2 separate regions of the Homo sapiens genome follow, and region 1 is linked to region 2. Evidence: promoter capture Hi-C in 16 types of primary human blood cells and fetal thymus (Javierre and others, 2016). All regions are on one chromosome and are shown on one strand. The core of a region is centred on a gene start or on the middle of the fragment in contact, and the rest is flanking DNA. Distances in the headings are between cores, read along the strand shown.

What was found. Contacts are between HindIII fragments. The CHiCAGO score rates a contact against its expected background, and 5 or more counts as called.
Region 1: a fragment that was not itself captured here is called in contact with the fragment with the promoter of AJUBA in region 2 in 1 of 17 cell types (erythroblasts); the score reaches 5.5 in erythroblasts.

The regions. Positions count from the first base shown.
Region 1 is chr14:23,070,546-23,077,936 of GRCh38, forward strand. All of the region lies in intron 8 of ACIN1 (apoptotic chromatin condensation inducer 1), which reads right to left. Among named protein-coding and RNA genes, the nearest start is that of CDH24, 17 kb to the left of the region's middle. RefSeq lists an enhancer at 839-908. The HindIII fragment of the contact is 4,139 bases long and covers 1,820-5,958 here.
Region 2 is chr14:22,980,563-22,987,369 of GRCh38, forward strand. AJUBA (ajuba LIM protein) reads right to left here and starts at 1,989. Exons shown (of 8, transcript NM_032876.6): 1 at 699-1,989. The coding sequence starts at 1,704. C14orf93 (chromosome 14 open reading frame 93) reads right to left here. Exons shown (of 7, transcript NM_021944.4): 7 at 5,332-6,807. The coding sequence ends at 6,653. It overlaps AJUBA-DT (AJUBA divergent transcript), which reads left to right and starts at 3,762. Exons shown (of 3, transcript XR_007064074.1): 1 at 3,762-4,258. RefSeq lists enhancers at 1,038-2,003, 2,004-2,969 and a silencer at 6,169-6,278. The HindIII fragment of the contact is 4,726 bases long and covers 1-2,665 here.

The DNA.
Region 1 (7,391 bases), core at 2,639-5,138, 92 kb after region 2:
AAGAATCCCAGAGATTCACTTCAGATAAACTATCTTTCCACCTTTGATTTCTGTCTTCGTCCCCAACTTCTATCTCAAATCTCACCCCCTCTACCACCCAAACACCAAGCAAAAAAAATCAAATCAAGATGATCAGAGGCCTAAGGCTCAGGAGAGGGGAAACCAAGCCTCCCAGGCCGATAACCACCACCAGAAAAGTCAGCATTCCCAACAGGCTGACTGACTGACACTCAGAGGTCAGAAGAACCTCCCTAGAGCAGTCAAGAAGGGATGCACTAGGGGGGTTAGGGGGAGGGGAAAATCGGAACTGTGCCCCCAGCTAAACAGGCCCCCAGAGAAACACGAGATTTAGCTGCTTACATCTAGAGAAAAGGCTTATACAAAAAAAATATCTATTTCCCATACAGAAAGGGCATGTGGGGCCAATTAGAAACTGGGCAGGCAGGACAAAGGGGGAAGGCAGAATGACTGAAAACAAACCAAAACGAAAGACGGAATGAAAGCCATGAGGAAGAGAAGGAAGACGAAGGGAGCTAGGGCGGCGGGGAAAAGGCATACATGGAAATGTGAAGCTCTCACCCTTCTTTGCTTTCTGATAACATGATTTTTTTTCTCCCCCTGGAAGTGCTGTTTATCCCTTTCTGGAATGGAAGAAATAACAAAAACCAAACAAAAAAAATCCTAAAAAAAATAAAGAAAAAAAACCACACCTTCCTTGTTCCAAGATCCCACCACCTCCTCCCCAGCCACCCGATCCAGAGAGAGAAAATTGAGATGTAGCAACCGGGGATCCAAAAAATGGTAAATGGAAGGGGAGGTGGTGGTGGTGCGGGGAGGCTAAAACAGATCTGGCTTTTAAGAGATAAGCGTTAAGTCCTCACGGCAAACCCCGAGTTCGGCTGGATTGGTCTCTCTGGAGAAGGAGGAAGAGGGCCAGGCTGCTGGTAGTGGCTGGCTCTATTGTATTGGCGGAGCGGCAGCGATCAGCCGGAGACATGCAGGGGAGCCATCTTGCCACTTACCCAGCAGCCTGTGTGTGCGGATGGGGGAGGGCCTTGCTGCAGCAGGGGAGGGGAAAGAAAAGAGGGAGGGAGCTGAGTGAGCAAGGTTCTTATCCTTTGGCAGGCCACAGGGAGCCGACTGCTGGCTCCAGAGGCCTGGCCTTCTTTTCTCAAGTTACAGCAGCTACAGAGGCTTAACCCCCCAGGGCTGGAGTGCTCCCTCCTGGTCTTCCCAGGGGGCAGGGGAGGGGGCTGGGTGGAGGACATGTAAAGTTACAGCTGCTTGATTGGAAGATTCTAGAAAATAGAGAGAATAGAAGGCAGGCAAACAGTAGAGGTGGGAGTGAAAAAGGATTAAATAAGAACGATAAAGCCAAAGTTGAAAAGTGATTAAAGAAGGATGGTAATGAAAGCTGGATAGAGGGTGGGGCATGAGCAATGTTTTATGTGCCTACCATCCTCTATCCAGTAATCTAGGCATGGAACACTGAAACCAGACCAACCAGTCAGATGCTGCAGGTAGGGAGGTGGGATGGGAATTGTCACTATCCAATCACTACAGTAACTGGCTGCTCACCCCGGCAATGACCACGTGTTACTACTCCAACATGTCCTTTTCCCAGGGATGGTGGAGGGAAGTGGATAGCAGGGAGAGTTCTTTTTTCAAATACCAGTAGAAGGGGGGCAGGGTTGGTGTCTCTGAAGAGATGACAGACAACTTTGTTTTATAGAGTCTTTAATAAGGTCACCCTGCCCCAGGGTCCACTCGGGCCAGAAAAAGAAAGGATAAACAGGGCAAGGGGACCTTGGGTAGCTGAAGCTTGAAGGCCACTTCTTGAAGCAAGGGCTCCAAGGTGAGGCTCTAAAGTAGATAAGACAGTGAAGTGAGAGTGCTGCTATATGGGGCGGGGAAGATCAGCTGGGCAGAAAGCGACTGGGAACTAAGCAGAAAATATTAATCATGGGAATCTTCACTAGACCAAAGTGGGAAACAGATGCTAATAGTTCAAAAAGTGCTCAGTAGATACTCAAAATGCTTATTTGTTGACTGCAGAGATGTTCCTTTTGTGTCCTAGTGGCAGTAGAAGTTTACACTAAGATAAACTTCTGAGAACCAAAGCTCAGTGTCTCGTGTAACATTTGAGCTTTTAAGCTAGGAATGAAATTTTCTCCCCGCTGCTTAAAATCTTACACTTACAATGCCAACTGCATGCTAAAGTGGCCATATTTATACATTACTTTAAATGTTTCCTTTCACATAGTGGTCCCTGTCTGCTCAGGGTTAAGAGTGAAGACTCTGGAGTCAGACTGGCTAGCCCCACTCTGTTAAAAGTTGTGTGATAGTAGGCAAGTTCCTGGTTCTGTATATCTGTCTTGTAATCTGCAAAGTGGGCATAGTGACAATACCTATTTCATGGAACAGTGTAGTTAAGTGTTAGCTCTTAAGAGTCTGGCTTGGAGGACACCCCAAGTGAAGGTACAGATACATGTAAAATACATGCACACTTAATAGGCCATTATCTCATCTGATGCCACCTCTGGGGCTCTGAGTTTCCTCAAAAGAGTAGACTGCTTGTTTTCTGAGGCAAAGCCATTCAGTGATTGGCATGACAGGTTTTCAGCAATGCCCTTATCACTCTGTATAATAACTGCTACTTTATCTGCCCCCCATCTCTACCCTGCATAATTCCTCAAGGGTAGGGATTGCATCTCTTGGCCCCTAGCCCAGGGCCTAACACAAAGTAATGTTCCCTAACTATTTCTGAATTAGGGTGTCATTGTGGGTACCAAGTGGACACTTACTAAATGCTTGCTAACCTAAAAGTTTTCTTATTGAAAAAAAAATTTTTTGGCTGGGCATGGTGGCTCACGCCTGTAATCCCAGCACTTTGGGAGGCTGAGGTGGGCGGATCACCAGCCTGACCAACATGGAGAAACCCTGTCTCTACTAAAAACACAAAATTGGCTGGGCGTGGTGGTGCATGCCTGTAATCCCAGCTACTCGGGAGGCTGAGGCAGGAGAATCACTTGAACCCAGGATGCAGAGGTTGTGGTGAGCCGAGATCGTGCCATTGCACTCCAGCCTGGGCAACAAGAGCAAAACTCCATCTCAAAAAAAGAAAAAAATTTTTTTAATAGAATCCCCACAAACAATGTTACACCACAGAAAATGTTACCTTCAGCCATCCTCAAATAAAATGCTCTGTTTATCCACTGTCCTAAAATACTCTCAGCTGCTAATATGCCTCTGCAGAAGTGGCTGATTTTGAGAAATTTTGTTATTGAAAATTCCTTTTTTTTTTTTTTTTTGAGACGGAGTCTCACTCTGTTGCCCAGGCTGGAGTGCAGTGGCACAATCTCAGCTCACTGCAAGCTCCGCCTCCGGGGTTCACACCATTCTCCTGCCTCAGCCTCCCGAGCAGCTGGGACTACAGGCACCCTCCATTACACCCGGCTAATTTTTTGTATTTTTAGTAGAAACGGGGTTTCACTGTGTCAGCTAGGATGGTCTCGATCTTCTGACCTTGTGATTCGCGCGTCTCGGCCTCCCAAAGTGCTGGGATCACAGGCGTGAGCCATCATGCCCGGCCGAAAATTTCTTTTTTTTAAGAATAAGAATCTTACCACGTTCTCCTTTACCCTCTTAAGACACAAGAGGCGTGTGTTTTCTATTTCCCCATGATCAATTCTGTGGGACCCAACAATTCCGAACATTTTATTTTCAGACAATAATGAGGGCCGGGCATGGTGGCTCACGCCTGTAATACCAACACTTTGGGAGGCTGAGACAGGAGGACTGCCTGAGGCCAGGAGTTTGAGACCAGCCTGGCCAACATGGTGAAACCCCATCTCTATTAAAAATAGAAAAATTAGCAGGGTGTGGCAGCCGCGTCTATAGTCCCAGATACTCAGGAGGCTGAGGCATGATAATTGCTTGAACCCAGGAGGCGGAGGTTGCAGTGAGCAGAGATCGGGCCACTGCACTCCAGCCTGGGTGACAGAGTGAGACTCTGTCTCCAAAAAAGAAAAAAGATAAAGAGGAATCCTTGAAACTGTCCCCAAAATGGACTCTATCTACTTGCAGGACTAGTACCAAAACCTTGTTAACCATGTGTCAGAGCCCAACATAGCTTAACAGTCTGTGAAACTGCACAGAATAAGCAGTGGGGATATCTACCCATAAGTAAACAGTACACAAAGAAGCCCAGAAGAAAAGGGTACAACTACTTGGAGGCTAATAATATCACATTACAACTCATATGTGAATATGAGATTCAGAGAAGCTAATGGAAAAGGAAATTCCTATAGGCATATATGCTGAAATTTTAGTTATTATAGAAAATTCACGAGGAGCTGAAAAACTGACGTGAAAATTTAATAAGAAACAGTGGGACTAGATACCCTCAGAAGCATACTGGTCCCAAGATAACCTAGAACAGTATGATTTTGGGGTATATGTCCTTAGATAATTTCTCAGTGGAGCAAACTCTATTGATGACAACAAATTCTGCTTTTTCATGCATCATTTGGGATATTGGCATTGTATGTCCCCTGGGGAATATCAATTACACCATCATATTGGCTTAAGGAACCAATACCTTCCTCCTACACAGGCAGAAGGACAAACATGCATTGTACCAAGAGCCTAAAACTGCTATTGCCTGCTAGGTCTGTGCATACAGGAAGGTTGTATCTAGAGAAATCCAGGTCTGAATTAACTACAGCTGAATGATACAGCTGCCCACACAAACAAATCCCCTCTTTTCTTTCTTCCCCTTTTTTTTTTTTTTTTTTTAAGTAAAAAGAGAATACCATTATTTTCTGCTATATGGGGACATTTTTGTTATACCCATACAAGGCAGAAGACCAGAGTTTTGAACAGCACTCAACTGAAACAGGACTGAGGACCCACAAATTCCTGCTCCAAGCAATGAAAAAGACACCTTACCTCATAAATTTAGAATTCCTCAGGCACAATCAGAATCAGAATGGATTTAACCAAACACAGCAAAAAGTCAGTCAATCTCTTCCAAATGGTGACAGGTCCTTGAAGTCTAATTTTTTTTTTTTTTAACACTTTACTGCTCTGTTTTTTAAAGTCATATGACTTCTTGTTGAGACAGACAGAAAAACCAAGGTTAGGCCATAAATGGTCTTTTCCATTTTTTTTTTTTGAGACGGAGTTTCGCTCTTGTTGCCCAGGCTGGAGTGCAATGGCGTGATCTCAGCTCACCGCACCTTCCGCCTCCCGGGTTCAGGCGATTCTCCTGTCTCAGCCTCCTGAGTAACTGGGATTACAGGTGCACACCATGCCCGGCTAATTTTGTATTTTTAGTAGAGACGGGGTTTCACCATGTTGGTCAGGCTGGTCTCGAATTCCTGACCTCAGGTGATCCACCTGCCTTGGCCTCCCAAAGTGCTGCAATTACAGGCATGAGTCACCACGCCTGGCCATGCCATAAATGGTCTTTTCCATTTAGCATTGTTGATTACGCTTTCAAAATTGGCCAGAGCTCTAGAGGGCTGCCAGACTGCACACTTAACACTCTGGAGGGGTGAGAGACCAGGAAGGGTGTTGTTAATCAGTTGTGGTAGGGCCTCCAGAAATGTATGCAACCTTCTCAAAGATTTATTTACCAGATCCAATGCCTATGGGTTTAGGCTTCTGGGCATGCTGTTTTGTTAGAATGTTGAACAACCCATGTGATAGGCAGGTAGAAGGAAAGCAGGTACGAGTGATGTGTGTGAACTGCTCCTCAGTGAAGACTGCATTTCCCTTCTATACACTACTCCACTGAAGCGGGCCTAGGCAACAATGGACAATCTAAGTATTTGCCCAAGATGCCACTTGCCTATCATCTTATTAGAATCAATGTGACTAAATTATCTCAGTCATAAAATGAAGATCAAAACCACCTTTACCTGGAGTGGGGGGACAGGAAACTCTATGACTCCAAGCTTCATGTGCCCTGGACTTGCATGGGAATGTCCAGAAAAAAAGCTGCTTCAAAACAAAATAAAATGCCTTTCTGTTGCTAGGATCTCATAAACCCACAGAATTTTAAGGCTAGCAAAGAGCTTTTCAGAAAATCACTTTCTTCCCAAGGTGCATCGGAAGCAGTTCCTCAGGCCCAATTAGTAGCAGGCTGTCAATACCCACTTCAAAACTGCCATTTCACAAAGGACATGCTTTTGTAAAATGGAATGTAAAATGTACCTCCATGGAATTGGGAGGAGGGGGGCAGGTATTATGTCTGGTTGAGGGATATGGAAGAGAAAATGTCACCCCATTTCCTCATCGATGATGTAGCTGGGGAATCCTGAATACCTTCCAGAATCCGCTGAGTTTTCACTTTATGGTCCCAGAAGAAAAACCCTTTTCCAAAGGATAGCGTACCCATTCCAGAAGGGAAAAACCAAAAAATTTCAAAGGAAGTAGAGTGAACTTTTGGCTGCCAAACAAAAAATGTTAACAGCCACAAGATGGCAGCAGAGGTAAGACTGTCAGAATCGACAAGGATTATACCCCTCAGCAAGGGTATACCCCCAGGTAAAAGCTATATAGTAAGGTCTATAAAACTATCATTAAAGTCACAGGCAAATGAGATAAATCATGTCACCTGCCCACTACCCTCCAAAAGTCAGAGTTAAAGTACAGTTTGAAGCTCTCAGAAGAGTATAAATTATTAGACAATTACATATAGGGGAAATCATACTGGTAGCATTAGTGTTAATATGGCATAAAAACAAGTATAGAATAACTTTAGGCTAACAGTCTACACAGGACATTCTACAAAGCAGTTCAGGGTTCCTGATGTCTAAAAGCTACGCAATCTTATTCCCATAAGGCTTCATTTTTTCATTTCCCAGGAGACTTTGAAGCCAGGAATTCTGGCTCATTGGCTTCTTAATTTATAATACCTATCTCAGAAGAATGAATGACATACCTATTTAATTCTAATTTAACCTGATATGAGTATTTCTCTAGGACTTAATATAAAGATTTTAAAAACTCACATTAATTGTATAAATTTTAAGTTCAATCAAATGGTCTTAAGGGCCCAGGAACAAACTTCTGACTTGAAAGGAACTTCATAATTTGCTGTACTGTATGCTGTAAGAACTAGGATATCCTAGCAGAACTAGGATAGCTTAATGACAGGTAGTAACTAGGGAACTAGGGAAAATGCACAAACTAAAAAATAGCACCCAGCTGTGCCTTTATTAAGACCCTCAATATCCTTTATTAAACTGGGTTCCTAGGTAAACATGAGTTAAAGATTAAGATGCCCGGAGTCAATTCCCTTACATGGTTTTGAGTGTGGAAGCAGAAGCTTCTATTGCCTAAATCTTAAAGGAGTTGACTATTTTGGCTGGATGATCCCAGGT
Region 2 (6,807 bases), core at 739-3,238:
TGGTACTACTGGGTCTCTGATTAAATGCCCACGCACGCACCTAGCCAACAGGACTGGGGAGGGACAGCAGTTGGGTCCCAGGGCGCTCCATCCTGTCTCCCAGGCTCCATTTCCCCGACAGCCGCCACTACTCCGCGTATGCTAGGGAGCGTCCCCCGATCCCCGAACCCCACCCCTCCGCCGCGCGGCGGCAGCCGCCCCGCCCGCGGGCACCTGGAGCGCCCGGGCAGGAGTCGGCACGCACGCGGCCAGCCTGCCCCGCCCCCCCACCCGCGCATTCTCCGAATTCCTGCGGGCGGAGCCTGGGCCCGGGTGGGGGCGCGGCGCGCACAAACCTCCAGGGGCACCGCCGTGAAAGGGGGGAGCAAGTTGGGGGGGATGCGCCTTCACTGCCCCACTTGGTCCCTTCCCTACGAGGCCTCCTGCCGCAAAAAACCGAGGTTCAAATGCTTGAGAAACGGACTCACGAGATACCAGGGGGGTTGAATTTAGCAGAAATAAGGAGCCCTGGTTCATCTGAAAACTAGCAGGAAGGGGACAGTGCTCTGGGGCCGCCCCCATCCATCCCTCTTGCTTCTTTCCTAGTCCCGCGTCTTCACCTCGGACCCCGGGGCACCGGCACTTTGGGCCGTCGGGGCAGTGGAGAACCGAATACCGTGACGGGTCCCTTCCCGTCCCTAACCACTTCTCTCACTCACCGAAGTAGTCCTCCCTGGCCTCTGGCTCCCGCATCCGGGCCCGGGCGGCCTCCGGAACGAAAGGACCTGGTGGCTCCTCCAGACCCGACGGCTCAATCCCCGAGGGTTCTCCGCGGGCTCCGGCTTCTCGCCCACCGGTGCCCACCGTCAGGCGAAGCAAAGCTGTTAGCTCGTCCTGGTACCGGGCGCCCACGGCGCAGTCCCCGTAGCCGGTCACAGAGTGTCGTCCGGGTTGCGCCCCCCGTCTCTCCAAGGGCCCCGCCGCTCCCACTCCGGCCCCGGCTAGAGCTCCAGGGCTGCCCAGGGCCGGGGGATACGAGTGGCGGCTTTCCTGGCAGCCGAACCCCGCGGGCCGCTGAGCGTACAATCGGTCCAGGGCGGCGTGGAGCTCCGGGTAGGCGGACGGGACCCCTCCGGGAGAATAGCCTGCCGGTGCTCCGGCCAGGGGTGGGCCAAACAGGCACGGCCCCGCTGGCAAGGGGCTCCCGTGGCGCTGGTCGTAGCCCATGCTGATGCCGCTGGTGCGATTGCTGCAGGGCCGGCTACCTCCAGCTCCGCCAGCCCCCGCCCCGTCCAGCAGCAGGCTGCCCCGGGGGCTGGACGGCTTGCTCGCGTCGCTGGCCGAGCTACTGGCGAAGCTAGAGCGGGGGCTGAGGGCCGGGGCCGTGGGCTCCAGCCGAAAATCGGGGGGCAACGACTGAGGTAGAGGCAAGGCCCGGGTGGGCGGCGGCCCCGCGGGAAAAGAGCCTTCGTAGCGCGGCGCCTCAAAGGAGCCGCGCTGATTTCGCTCAGCGTCCAGGGAACCTTGCTCCCGGGCCGGCTCCAACGGCTCATCCCCAGGTCCCCCAGTAGCTCCTCGGGGCCCTGACTTCCTAGGTCCCCCCAACCCACTTAGGCGCCCCTTGCCCGGCCCGGGGGTCCCGTCAGACCCAGACCGGCTAGATTCACCCTTTCTGCGGCCGAACTTCTCCAGCAGGCGACTGGCTTTCTCTCCTAACCGCTCCATGCCCTCGGGCCTGGGGCCTCTCGCCCCCTCCCCGCCTGGCACCCTGCGGCGTCTCGGCGGCCGGTTCTCTTTCCCTGCAGCCGGACTCTGGTTCCCCAGGGGCACAGGGGAGGCACAGGGGCTTAGCGGGCGGCCTGGATGCCCTGCGCCAGGAATCCCACAGCATCCCCCAGCGGGAGGGGCTGCGTCCCCCCGCGCATCTGGGGCTGAGCGGGGCTAGCAGGGTCTCTGGCCGCGGCTGTCCAGTCCGCAGGTCTATCTGTTCACGCGTCGACTCGCCCGACTGCCCCACTCTCCCCGGCCCCCGCCCCCCTAGCTCTCACGCTAGCCACAGACCGAACTTCTCTCCCAAACTTTTGTCTGCCTGGCCGGATCTACTTTCCTAGGGGGGCGGAGCGCGGTGTGTGCGAGAGCGCCGGGGGTGTCCGCGCAGGGATAGCTGGTGTGCGTGCAGCGGAAGGCGCTAACTGCCCTGGATGTGGAGACCCGCGGACTGGACGTGAGAGGCGGGCAGGGGCAGTTGGGGCAGCTGCCCCTACAACACTGAAGAATTGGAATAGGAAAGAGTGTGGGGGTAGGGGACGGGGACTCTTTGTCTGCAGTTGGAATGCGCGGAGGGGCATGGTGGAATGTGTCGCGTCCCGGGACCGGACGACAGGAGGCATGTTCTGCGCTAGCACCGTGACTTTGTTCCCAGCGTGGGGACTGTGGGAGAGATGGAGAGAGACTGGTACAGAAATGGTGAGACAAGGAGAGAGCCATAAAGAGGAAGACAGAGAGAAAGAAGACAAATGCATAAAGAGGTTCAGAGACGTGTACGTAAAGATAGCCCTGAAAGGCGACGAAGCCCACAGAGAGAGGTGGAAGAGGGAAGAGGTAGCGAAAGAAAGGGAGAGCTGAGGAGCAAAGAGGAGTGTGGACGATGCAGAGACCGAAGGGTGCGCAGACAAAGGAAAGGACAAGCTTGTCCAGAGAGAATGAGAGACAAACAGATAAACTGCAATAAAAAGGCACCACCTTCTGGACCCAAAAGTTTTGTGATTTGTAAAAGCAGTGAAAAGGAGTCAGGAAAATGGGACTAATCTCTACTTTGAGAGGGAGGGAAAGAGATATAGTGTGTATGTAGAAGCAGTGAAAAGGAGTGAGGAAAAGGTTTGGGACTAATCTCTACCTTAAGGGTAGGACAGTTAGAGGGATAGACACCCCCTGGTGTTGGGAAATGAGATTTTTCTCATTTCAGGTGACTGTGGAGATCGAAGGCCTGGTTTTAGGGCTAGCGAACACCTTCTCCCTTTGGTTTTGGTCCACAGAAGACTGGTGATACAGAGTAAGTATTAAGAGGAAGAAAAGAAATGCCGTGTAGAGGAAATTGCAAATGAAAATGATCAGGATGGAAAAGAGGCTGATATTGACTATTTTAAAAGGATCAAGAATAAGGAAAAGAAACCCTGGCTGAAGCAGCCGGGCGCGGTGGCTCACGCCTGTAATCCCACCACTTTGGGAGGCTGAGGCGGGCGGATCACTTGAAGTCAAGAGTTCAGACCAGCCTGGCCAACATGGTGAAGCCCTATCTCTACTAAAAATACAAAAATTAGCCAGGCGTGGTGGCGCACGCCTATAGTCCCAGCCACTCGAGAGGCTGAGGCGGGAGAATCGCTTGAACCCGGGAGACAGAGGTTGCAGTGAGCCAATATCACGGCCACTGCACTCCAGCCTGGGCGACAGAGCAAGACTCCGTCTCAAAAAAATTCTCAAAAATAAATAATAATTTTTTTTAAAGAAACCCTAGATGAAGCTAAACATACCTAATTAAATACCAGCCAACGGCCGGGAGCGGTGGCTCACGCCTGTAATCCCAGCACTTTGGAAGGCAGAGGCGGCGGGATCACGAGGTCAGGAGTTTGCAACCAGCCTGGCCAGTATGGTGAAACCCCGTCTCTACTAAGAATACAAAAATTAGCCGGTGTGGTGGCGTGCACCTGTAGTCCCAGCTACTTGGGAGGCTGAGGCAGAAGAATCGCGTGAACCCAGGAGGCGGAGGTTGCAGAGAGCCGAGATTGTGCCATTGCACTCAGGCCTGGGCGATAGAGGGAGATTCCGTCTCAAAAAAATTTTTTAAAAACCAGCCAACTACTTTTGCCCAGACTAAAACATCAGGGGCAAGGGGTGGAGGAAGTAGAATGGAGAAGGAAAATGACTCCTTTGTATTTAGATAGTAAATGAGTATGAAAATTATATGCAAACAAGTCATGCATATTATTTTCATCTCAACATTTTGAACACCTTTTATAATCTTAGTGTAGCCTTAGGGAATGTGGAAAGAAACGAGGTTAATATCTTTTGGGAAATTAATTTGTGCCAAACTATTTGGCTTCTTCGTCCTAGTTGCATTGTCTCCCTGACCTCATCTCCCCTGAGAATCAGCCTCTGTTTCCCTGGTCAAGGCCACGGCTTTTCTCTGATCCTGAGGAGAGTTTCCTACCAGAGTGGAAGCAGGGAGGACTGAAAGCACTAGGAACAGAGGGGAGCTATCGGATTGCATCTAGAACCTGCTGTGAGCAACATCTTCAGAATTAACCATAATGTGTTCCCTCCTTTCCTGTGTCCAGATGAGGAAGGAGAACTTTGATTCTTCCTTCCAATTACATCCAAAATATCCACACAACTACTAATATTTGGAAGCTTTGATCCTTTGGGGTGAGGATGCGAGAGGAAATCTTATGAAATGTTGGGAGGCCATTAAAGGAGGCCCATGCAAGAGTTGGTGGTAGCAATGGGCACAACTGGGATGAACAGCCTGTGTTTTCAAGGGATAACTGGAAGCAGAGATGAGTGAAGGGGAAGAAGTAGAAGACGCATATGCTAATAGGGCATGCTCCAATAGTGCTCATGACCTCAGGTGGCCTCTCCACAGTCTAAACTGGAGCTGGGATCTCCAAAGGCCCTCTTCGTTCCCAAGACTTTAATTATAATCTGTATATGCAGGTGACTCCCTAATCCATATTTCCAGCCCAGTCTTTCTTGGAATTAAAAACTCAACTAACTACTAGCATCTCCAATGGCTGTCTCAGAAGCACCCAATATCCTAAACTGATCTCATCTTCTCTGCCTCATGAAACTGGCTCCTCTAACATTCTCTGAGTAAATGGCACAATCCTGTTAGCTGCTTAAACTAGAAATCTGAGCGTCAACCCTATGTCCTCCTTCTCCCTTAACCTCAAATCCAACCAAGTCCTATCAATCACCAAGTTCTATTAATTCTGCTTCCTAAACATCTTCCAAATCTGTCCTCCCCTCATCACCACTATATATGTCAAGTCACCGTCTTTCCTCTCCGAAACCAATGCAAAAGTCTCCTGGCCAAGGCTTGCTCCCTGCAATCCATCTTATACCCTGAGGTCAAGTGATTTTTTTCAGTACAGAAGCTTTACGACTTACAATGGAGTTATGTCTGAATAAACCCATCCATTATAAATTGAAAATATCGTAAGGCAGAAGTGCTTCTTCAACTTCACCATATTTTCAGCTTAAAATGGGTTTATCTGATATAACTGCATCATAAGGTGAGGAGCATACTGAATCATTTCGCACCATCGTAAAGTTGAAAAATCCTAAGTCGAACCATCGTTGAGTTGGGGACTGCCTGTAGGCAAAACCTGTCGTTTTATTTCCCTGCTAAAACAAACTTTCAATGATTTCTCACTGCCCTTGGGTTGAAGTCTGTACTCTGTATTATGAGGTCTGTCTCACTCTCCAGCCTCTCCTCTAGCATTATCCCTTCCCCAAAAGTCTGCAGTAGAACTGGACCTTGTCTGTACTCTCTCTTGCCCCTGGACTTTTGTACCTGCAGTTCCCTGTTTGGAACACTCTCTTAGCCTCCCCTTTCCTTCTGGTTAACTCTTCCCCAGTTTAGACATTACACCCTCTCAGAAGAAGCCTTTCCAGACTGCAAGAGTAGGTTAGCTACCCCTGCTGTATATTGCCATAGTGCACTACACTCCACCATGGTCACCCTTATCACAGTTCATTTCATTGCCTACTCCACTGCCTGGCTTCCTGACTAAACTAAAAAAATCTCTGAACAGCATCCAACCTTATCAACAATGTATCCATAGCACAGTACCTGACACCTAGTAAAGCGATCAATGTTTGTTATAAGACTGAATAAATGTAAAGCCATTTTTGCTTTTCAATCCATCCAAAATGCACACCCCTTCCTCAAAATACAGCTTGGCTGACAGGACCAAGAAACAGCTACAAAGCTGTGTATTTTGCTTGGTCACATAGTGAGAGAGAGGCTGCCGGTGAGACACGGGAACTCTTTAAGCCTTAATTTCCTCATCTGTAAGATAGGAATAGTAAAATTTTCCTCATGTAATTCAATAAACAATAGCTATTATATCAGGAACCCAATTCCCCAATAGTGATAGAACTTGTGTTCCCTTGGTCAGAAGACTCAAGCTCATGACTGAAACTGCCCACCAGGTGGCGGTATTAACCTGCACTGGTCATGTTCGGTTTCCACTGCAGAGCAAGACAAGTAGTCACAGGGAAGCAAAAGGTACAACCTGGGCTGCTTCCTCAGAGCTTTGGGTGGAACTGGGCAGGGGCAGAAACAACTCAGAGACAGGGCATATGTCAAGAAGGCCTCATGTTTCTTGGACCCATCCTCCTCATTTTCTCATCCCAGGCTTCTCCGAGATACTGTTTATGCTGAGGAATAAGCATATTCTGGCTTACTGTTCACAGTGGAGGGAGTTTCTCCCCTTCTAGATAAGTTTTTATCCCACCAGTGTTCTGCTTCCCCAGTAGAGACTGTGTTAAGAAAAGAGGCAAATTTGCTTTCTCAGACTGCACAGAGCATCTCATTATTTTGTGAAGCCCCATGGCCACCTATTTCTGAGACATGGGGCATGGCGGAAGCCAGAGTTATTCTTGGCTGTAGATTTTATTCATCCTTTTCCACCTTGATTTCAATGAATGAGTTCAAGTCAGGACAGCAGGTTTTGTGGGGTTGGTCAAAAGATGGGGAGCCAGGTGCATTCTCATCCCCTCCCTCATCTTCCTCTTCTTGGAAATTAGGATTGTAAAGTTCTGGTGGAA